Regions from separate parts of the Homo sapiens genome. Here region 2 is linked to region 1. The links are contacts of gene promoters, found by promoter capture Hi-C in blood cells and fetal thymus (Javierre and others, 2016). All regions are on one chromosome and are shown on one strand. The core of a region is centred on a gene start or on the middle of the fragment in contact, and the rest is flanking DNA. Distances in the headings are between cores, read along the strand shown. Region 1 holds the start of TMEM184A (transmembrane protein 184A). Region 2 overlaps IQCE (IQ motif containing E).

Region 1 (3,991 bases), core at 470-2,969:
ATGGGGAGGTTAGGCAAGGCGGGCCTGAGAGCTGGGCACGACTTCCTGAGCTTGTTCCCCACCTGGGAGCCTCCCTGGAGGGACAGTGTCAGTGGAGGAGTTGGGAAAAGCAGGCAGGGTGTCCCAGGGAAGGATGGGCCTCAGCCCGGGCCCCTCACGGACCCCTCAAGGATGCTGGACGCGTTGATGCGCCTCTCGTTCCCATCTCTAAAAGGGGAACAGGCCGGACGTGGTGGCTCAAACCTGTAATCCCAGCACTTTGGGAGGCTGAGGCGGGCAGATCACCTGAGGTCAGGAGTTCAAGCCCAGCCTGGCCAACGTGGTGAAACCCCGTCTTTACTAAAAATACAAAAATTAGCTAGGTGTGGTGGTGGGCGCCTGTAATCCCAGCTACTCGGGAGGCTGAGGCAGGAGAATCACTTGAACCCAGGAGGCGGAGGTTGCAGTGAGCCGAGATCGCGCCATTGTACTCCAGCCTGGCGACAGAGCGAGGCTCCGTCTCAAAAAATAAATTAATTAAAAATAAAAGGGGAACAGTGGCTCCAGTCATTCCAGCCTCAACCCCTTGAGCCCTGTTGCTCAGGGCTGTGGGAGGGTAGGAGATATGAAGGACAAGGAGTGTGTGGATCCGTTGCGGGCATGGAGCGGGACTTGGTAATGGTGGCCCCAGCGGCATGAGCCCAAGCGTAACCAGAACAGGACAAGAGGTGGGCTGAGGGCCCACATCCCTCTCCCAGGAGCCGGGGTGAGTGAGTTTTTTCTCCACAGGGGCCTCTGCATGGGGGTGACAGGGACCCTCAGGGCCCCGCAACCCCTTGCCAGACCCCAAAGGGTCCAGGGACTGGGCTGTCACTCCCCCTCTCCTGCCTTGATCCACAAAAACCAGAAATATTTCCTTTTTTTTTTTTTTTTTTTTTTGGACACAGAGTCTCCCTCTGTCCCCAGGCTGGAGTGCAGTGGTGTGATCTCAGCTTACTGCAACCTCCGCCTTCTGAGTTCAAGCGATTCTCCTGTCTCAGCCTCTTGAGTATCTGGAATTACAGGTGCACGCTGCCACACCTAGCTAATTTTTGCGTATTTCGTAGAGACGGCGTTTCACCATGTTGGCCAGGCTGGTCTCGAACTCCTGACCTCAAGTGATCCACCCACCTTGGCCTCCCAAAGTGTGGGGATGACAGGCGTGAGCCACCACGCCCGGCCCAGAAAACAAATGTTTTCAACTCATCTCTTGGGGCGTGGATTTTTTTTTTAATTCAGATGAAATTCACATAACATCAATTTACCCAGGTTTAAGTGAACGATTCGGTGGCGGTAAGTATATCCACAGTGCTGTGTGCCTGCCGCCTCTACCTCATTTCAGGACTCCTGTCACCCCCCAGAGAAACCCTGTACCATTAGCTCTCCACCCCTCCTCCTGCAGCCCGGCCCTCCTTGGCCTGCCGCAGACCTCTCCCACGTGTCCCCACCAGGTGGCAGCTGCCTGGCCGTCTGGCATAGGCAGGTGAGGGCGCCAGGCGGCCAGCAGGTTCCTGGGAGCCAGCTGCCACCCAGCAAACAACCGGGAGGATAGGGTGTCAGCCGTGGGAGGGGACAGGAGGGGACGGGCCTGCAGCCTGGGGCCCAGGTGGGCCACTGGGGACGTGAGGCACTGGCCGCCCCGCCCCAGCCTGGCACAGCCCTTCAGATCCTGGCCTTGCCGCACCCACAGTGGGGCCTCCAGTTGGGGCCACGTGGCCATGAGAATGACCAGCTAGGCTTCCCTGGAGGCCAGGCCTCCCTGGACTGGGCCAGGTGCTTCCTGCCAGCAAAGGTAGAGCTGGGCCCTGTGACCGCAGACCAGAGGGAGAGGAGGAGGCTGGACTGGGCTGCGAGTGTGGGAGAGGGTGGACTCAGGGCCCCAGCAGGTTAGTGGGAGATGGAACAGGCACCCAGGGCTGCCAAGAACCCCAGCAAAGCCGGGCTCCCAGGTGGGTGGACAGGTCCCAGAGCCAGTGAGGGCCGGCTCCTCCCATGAGGGTGGCTGCACACCCCCTCCTGCCGGGGCAGGCAGTGCTGGTCTGCGCCCGCTCCCCAGCCCTCCCGGGCAGGCAGGGCGGCAGGGGTTCCCCCTCTTCTGCCCCACTGGAAGACGGTCTTTGTCCCCTAAGAAGCAGGCTCCCTGCAAGCCTGAGACTCGGAGTTGGAAGCTGGTTTTACAAGGGGGAATTGAGGTGGGACCCTCAGGTCGCAGGTGGTTGATGGGTGAGCTTCGATGGCTGAGCTCGGAGCAGGGAGGGAGCCGGGCCTGGCGCTGGTGTCCGTGTGGGGGGTGCGGCCTGGTGGGTGGCTCAGCCTCAGCTCCCGTCTCACTGTCTCCTCCCTCCCCCGCTGCTTCCTGCTGCCGGGAGCCAGTACCTTTGCCCTCACTCCTCCCGGTGTGTGTCCTCCCTCCCTCTGCAGATGAGTAATGTCTCAGGGATCCTGGAGACAGCCGGCGTCCCCCTGGTGTCAGCGAACTGGCCGCAGCCCAGCCCCCCACCGGCTGTGCCAGCTGGGCCGCAGATGGACCACATGGGGAACAGCTCCCAGGGGGCCCCCTGGCTCTTCCTCACCTCCGCACTGGCCCGAGGCGTCTCGGGGATCTTCGTGTGGACTGCCCTGGTGCTCACCTGCCACCAGGTAAGCCCTTCCGCCCCCGAGCCTCCTTCAGGACCTTGGTCTCCACAGGACGTGGCCGTGGCTCAGCCCGGTCCCCCTGGGTGCCGCTGCTATAGACGCTGTCAGAAGTGGGATCGGCCAGGGCACGGGGGAGGGGATGAGCTTCCCCAGGATGTGGCATGTGGGAGCTGGGCCTGAAAATGGGGAGATCTCTGCCAGGCTGAGGGCAGAGCGCCCACCGGGCACCCCTGGCTATTTCACAGGCTCGTCACTCGGCTCACTGAGGTCTGCAGTGTGGTCCCATTTCACAGACAAGAAGACTGAGTCTCAGAGAGACCAGAGGTCTTTCCCAGGCTCACATAGCTGGAAAGGGGAAGGGGCCTTCTCCTTCCAGAGGCGTGACACCCTGGAGAAGGCTGGTGGGAGGTTGGCAGGGGGTTGGACTTTGCTCTGTAGGGAGCTGGGGAGCAAAGGTCACAGCTTGTTAGAGGGACCGGGACTCCTGTGCAGGAGATGGGCGAGAAGCAACTTCCCCAAGCCCGAAGCCACACACAGCCCCCGACCCGGAGCAGTCCCCAGGTGGGAACAGAACAGCCCCCAGGTAGAGAAGCGGCCAGGCGCTGTGGCAAGGAAGGGCCAGGCAGGGGCAAGGAGGAAGTGGTGCCCGAGGGCAGGGGCTGGGCAGAGAGGGCAGGGAGTCAGGGACAGGACCCTCCTGAGAGACTCAGATACACAGAGAGGCCAGGGCGGTGTGCGCAGGGGTGGGGTGGGAGTGCGTGTGTAGGCCCGCGAGGGCCACACGGCTGCAGGGATTTGTCCAGAGCCCTTGACCCCAGTGCGGTGAGGTGGCTTTCAGGGGGTGCTGGGAGCCCAGGAAGGCTGTGGAGGGCTGGGCTGAGGGCAGAGCTGCTTCCCGGGTGCACGGGGCACTGGTGTAGGGAATGGATCTGTAGGTGAGCTGGGGCAGGGGGCCATCAGGAGACTGGCAGGCAGGGACACCGGTGGCCACAAGTCTCCGAGGGAGCATCTCAGTGACAGTTTATTAACTGCTTATTAGCCGGGCATGGGGGCCTGCACTGTTAGTCCCAGCTACTTGGGAGGCTGAGATGGGAGGATCGCTTGAGCCCAGTTCAAGGTTGCAGTGAGCTGTGAACAGATAACCAGAACCCACGGTAGACGTGTATGAGTGTGGCCTGGAGTGTGCAGAGCCGCGGAGGCAGTGCCGAGGCAGGCCCTTCCTGTAAGGCCATCAGAGAGGGCTTCCCGGAGGAGGCCGTCTTTCCGCTGTAATCCTGGGAACCGGCTGTGTGTGCGCGGCTGTAGTGTGGCTTTAGCTTCATGGGGCCTCGCAGTC
Region 2 (3,991 bases), core at 1,063-3,562, 1.0 Mb before region 1:
CGTTTTGTGCCTTTTTAACATGTCACATTTTTAATGTCACTACATAGTGACAGAGCAATATTTAGAACTTAATATGTAAAATATCTAAAATAAATGAGAAAAATCTTACTGTTTCAGGGCATTCTTGATTTTGTATGAAAGTAAGGGAAATGTTTTAAAATTCTTTATCTGAGATTTTCCCTCTTTAAGTATAAAAAAGATAATAAACGTATGCAAAAACTAAGGCACTCTTAAAACATTCTTATATATCTTAAATTGCAAAATGTATGTCAGTAGGGTCTGAAAATTTAAGTCTAATATGTTCAAAATGTTTAAGTTTCTAAGTTTTTCCCGCGGTTTCACAATTTATGTGAAATTCGCCACCGTAACTGTGAATGAGGGAATAAAGACGCAGGGACCCTGCTGCATCTTCACTTACCCGGGACCACAGAACCTGGCCTCCCAGATAGTCTCAAATTCTTCCAAAACGTAAAGATTTAAGTTGTCATTTATACAAGTAAATGAGTGAGCAGAAAAAAGCCCTACACATTACATTTCCCTCCTAAGAGTGTGTGGGCTTATCGGCGAGTAGGAAGGGTTCCTCAGGAAAGCATGAAAGCGGGGATAAAAGCGGGGAGGGAAGAAGAGAGGACGGAGACAGGGTGGTGGAGAGATGCCAGCGTTTGATACTGCCCGGAAAACGACAAACTCGGAAAGCAGGAAAACATCATCGCCTGCCTCGCCCTCCTGGCAGAGTGACCAGGACGATGAAAAGCCTCGGAACGTGGTGGGAGCTGCAAACCTACAAGCAGGTTGACCAGGCCTTGGAGAAAAACACTTGCTGAGTGAACAGGACAGACATGGTCCCTACACTCACGAAACTAGAAACCCGGAGAAAAACAGGTCCCGAGTGTGAGTCAGGAGGCACCCCCGGTCCTGGCCTTTTACTTTATATCAATTCTCAATTTTCTCCATGGAAGGAGAGAAAGGACATCAAAAATCCAAATTGCTAGGTGATTTCCTTCTAGTGTTTATATTGATTTGTAACATATAACATGCATTCTTTTCTGTGCAGGGATTTACCTAATTATGTTTTCCTTGGGCTAGTAGCAAAGTTTGTTTATATTCTCTGAGTGCGTCATATACTTGACTGAACCTTTGAAATATATGATACGCGTATATAAAATAGACACACATCTACAGATGGCACAGCCAGGGAAGGCCACAGGCTTTGGGGTAGCACAGGATGCCGGCCTAGGATTTACAGGGTCACGAACACATTCGTACGCACAAGGTCGGCACACGGGCTGCTGTACACGAGAGCGGCATTAGAGACAGAGGGGCCTCGGGGCCACCTGGACTAACCCCACCTCCGCGGCACCCTCCTGGACAAGCAGGGTGGCAAATGCTGCCCTCCTCCTGCTGAGGGTGAGGAAGAATAGAACCCTGGCAGCAAAACAAGCCCAGGATGATCCAAAGGGGAAAAAGGTGAACTTGCCACCCGTCCCACCAACTACACCTTCTCAGTAACTTCGACTCTCAGGAACAAATCCCAGGTCAAAAATCCTTTAACTCTGGCAGCATTCAGAAGAGGTAAGCCTTTGAGAAAGCAAGAAAAAGAAAACAAAAGGCCTAGAGGCACTGTCGGGGGAGACTGGGGAGTTGGTGGCAGCCTCAGCCCTGAGAAAGGGCTCGTCACTCTGGCACCAACAGGGACTCCACGTGCTCCTGAGACCCCAGCATGAACCCCAACATGAAAGGGGGAGACTCCAGCGCGAACTGGGAGACCCCAGTGGGAATGGGGCCAACTGGCTGAGGCGTCAGGTCTCAGCTACCTAAATGTACAAAGCAAATACCCTTCATTCTCTCCAGGACACCAGGGAACGTCGGCGTGAGAGGGAAGGCAGGCCTCGTCATACTTACTTGGCGATGTGGGTGGAGGTTTGTGGAAAGCTTTCCTTTTTGCTTTCTGAAAGAAAGAAGAAATGGCATAAGGCTTGCTGAGCTCCCACAGTGGTGCATCACAAGACCCTACCATGTTCAGAAAGGGTCAGGGGTCGTGTAAGAGCAGCAAGAGGACGTGAGCTTACGGGGACGTAAGGAGGGTCCAGGAACAGGACACGCAGGGCCCGATGCAGACCCCACAAAAATGCACTCACGTCAGTGCTCAGGGCTGGGCTCTCAGAGCACAAGTTCCAATTACAGAAAACCATCGGGCCCGGGCTCCTGACGTTCAGACTGAGGGTCCCACACAAATGGCGGATCTGCCCCCACCCAAACCGCCCGCACAGCCAGCCTGGGAGCCCAGCGCACCTCTGTCCACTCAGGTGGAGGTGGTCAGATGAATCCCTGCACATAAGTCAACTGCAAAGCCCACTATGGAAGAAAGCCGAGCAAAGGGAGACCCTGTCTGGAAGGTGGTCTCCTGTGACAACCACGATGCCAAACACCCAATGGGGTCCAGATCTCACAGAACGGGGTCCAGATCTGGTTCCACTGCTTACTACGGGGTGAGTGTCCCATATCCGAGATGCCTGGGACCAAGAGTGTTTCTGATTTGGGAATATTTGCATCCATATAATGAGGTATCTTGGGGATGGGACCCAAGTCTAAACACAAAATTCATTTATGTTTCATATATACATTATACCCATAGTGCAATGGTAATTTTATATTGTGTTTTTAATAACTTTGTGCATGAAACAAAGCTTGTGTGAAGTACTTAAGGGTGGAATTTCCCACTTGTGGCCTCATGAGGGTGCTCAAAAAGTTTCCATTTTTGGAGCATTTTGGATTTTGCATTAGAGACACACAACCCGTCGTGCCGTGGCCTGGGGAAGATGCTGCCATGCTTCCAACCTTAACTTCCTCATCACCTTGCACTAGACCGAGCAGATAAGGCTACCGCGGCCAGGTCTCCTCACTTCCCCTCCAGCAGAAACATTGAGCCCCAAGTTCTGCGCGGGGGGAATTTTCCCTGGGGCTTGGTTTGGATCCCTCCTCCTCCGGGGAACATCAGAGGAGCATCCCCTGCCCTCTGTGACATGGAGGGAAAATCCTTAACTTTGCGAACAGAGGTCCCTGGAGGGAGACAGTGGAGCTGAGGCTCCCCCTTGAGTCCACAGAGCAAACGTGGAATTGAGATCTGCTGGTGCCGGGTTCGTTCTGCTGGCTGCAGGTTTGCTAGATCTGCGTCTCCAGTAAGAAAAGCTTTTTTCGCTCATACACGAGAAGAGCAATTGGCACACTTCCTTTTCTACCCAGCACAGCTTGCCAAACAAACCCAAAGCCCAGTCCGGGGCCATAGTGTGCCACTGGGCCATCGGACACCACTCCTGCCCCTCTCCTTTCCGGGCTGGGAGGCCAGGCAGCAGTTCAGCTTGGGATGGCGGCTGCCCAGGTCTGCTTTCTCCCATCGGGTCCTTCCGACGGCATTAGCAGGGGCTCTCCTCCTCCCCTCAAGTGTCAGGATGAGGGCGTGGGGTGCAGGGCAAAACCAGCTGCAGGCCAGGGACTAGCAATCTGTCTCACATGAGCCCTGCTCAGGATTCACGTCCAGATAAAAGTTTTAAAGTTATCACCACAGGTATTTAAACCTAAGGGCTGGAAACTTTTCAAACACCAAGGAGCATTCGGAATATGCATTCCAGCTCTCGACACAGTATTGTGGAGAACGGCCTATTTTACGCTTCCGAGTGCAGTCTGCAAGGGCAGCGCAACCAGCCCGAGGTCGCACGGCTGACACCCAGCGGCACTCACCGTCTCCACATCAGAGTCAAAGGTGACTGCAGACAGACTGTCATCTCCCTGGAGGAAGAGAGGCAAACACTGTAACTCGACGGCACCTGCTGGGCTTCCGACCATCACGTTTACAAAAGCGAAAACAGCCCGTCCACAGCTGCTGAAACAGAAACTCCAGAAATCCAGCTCTGAGGCCACTCAGAACACTCCAGCTGGGCAGCAGCCAGTTCCTCAGTCTCATCAGAAGGAATGGGTGGGTGGGGGGAACAAA

The links. The method cuts DNA at HindIII sites, captures the fragments that hold promoters and counts their contacts. A CHiCAGO score of 5 or more calls a contact.
Region 2: a contact is called between a fragment that was not itself captured here and the fragment with the promoter of TMEM184A in region 1, in 1 of 17 cell types (monocytes). The highest score is 5.1, in monocytes.

Annotation. Positions count from the first base shown.
Region 1 is chr7:1,553,933-1,557,923 of GRCh38, reverse strand. It overlaps TMEM184A (transmembrane protein 184A), which reads left to right and starts at 1,719. Exons shown (of 9, transcript NM_001097620.2): 1 at 1,719-1,810; 2 at 2,440-2,658. The coding sequence starts at 2,440. RefSeq lists silencers at 1,444-1,533, 1,574-1,643, 3,011-3,193 and enhancers at 1,301-2,100, 2,237-2,531, 2,101-2,901. The HindIII fragment of the contact is 30,451 bases long and covers 1-3,991 here.
Region 2 is chr7:2,566,911-2,570,901 of GRCh38, reverse strand. IQCE (IQ motif containing E) reads right to left here. Exons shown (of 22, transcript NM_152558.5): 2 at 3,739-3,786; 3 at 1,903-1,948. Among named protein-coding and RNA genes, the nearest start is that of IQCE, 9.9 kb to the right of the region's middle. RefSeq lists enhancers at 2,855-3,456, 3,471-3,640, 3,841-3,890, 3,457-3,991. The HindIII fragment of the contact is 755 bases long and covers 1,935-2,689 here.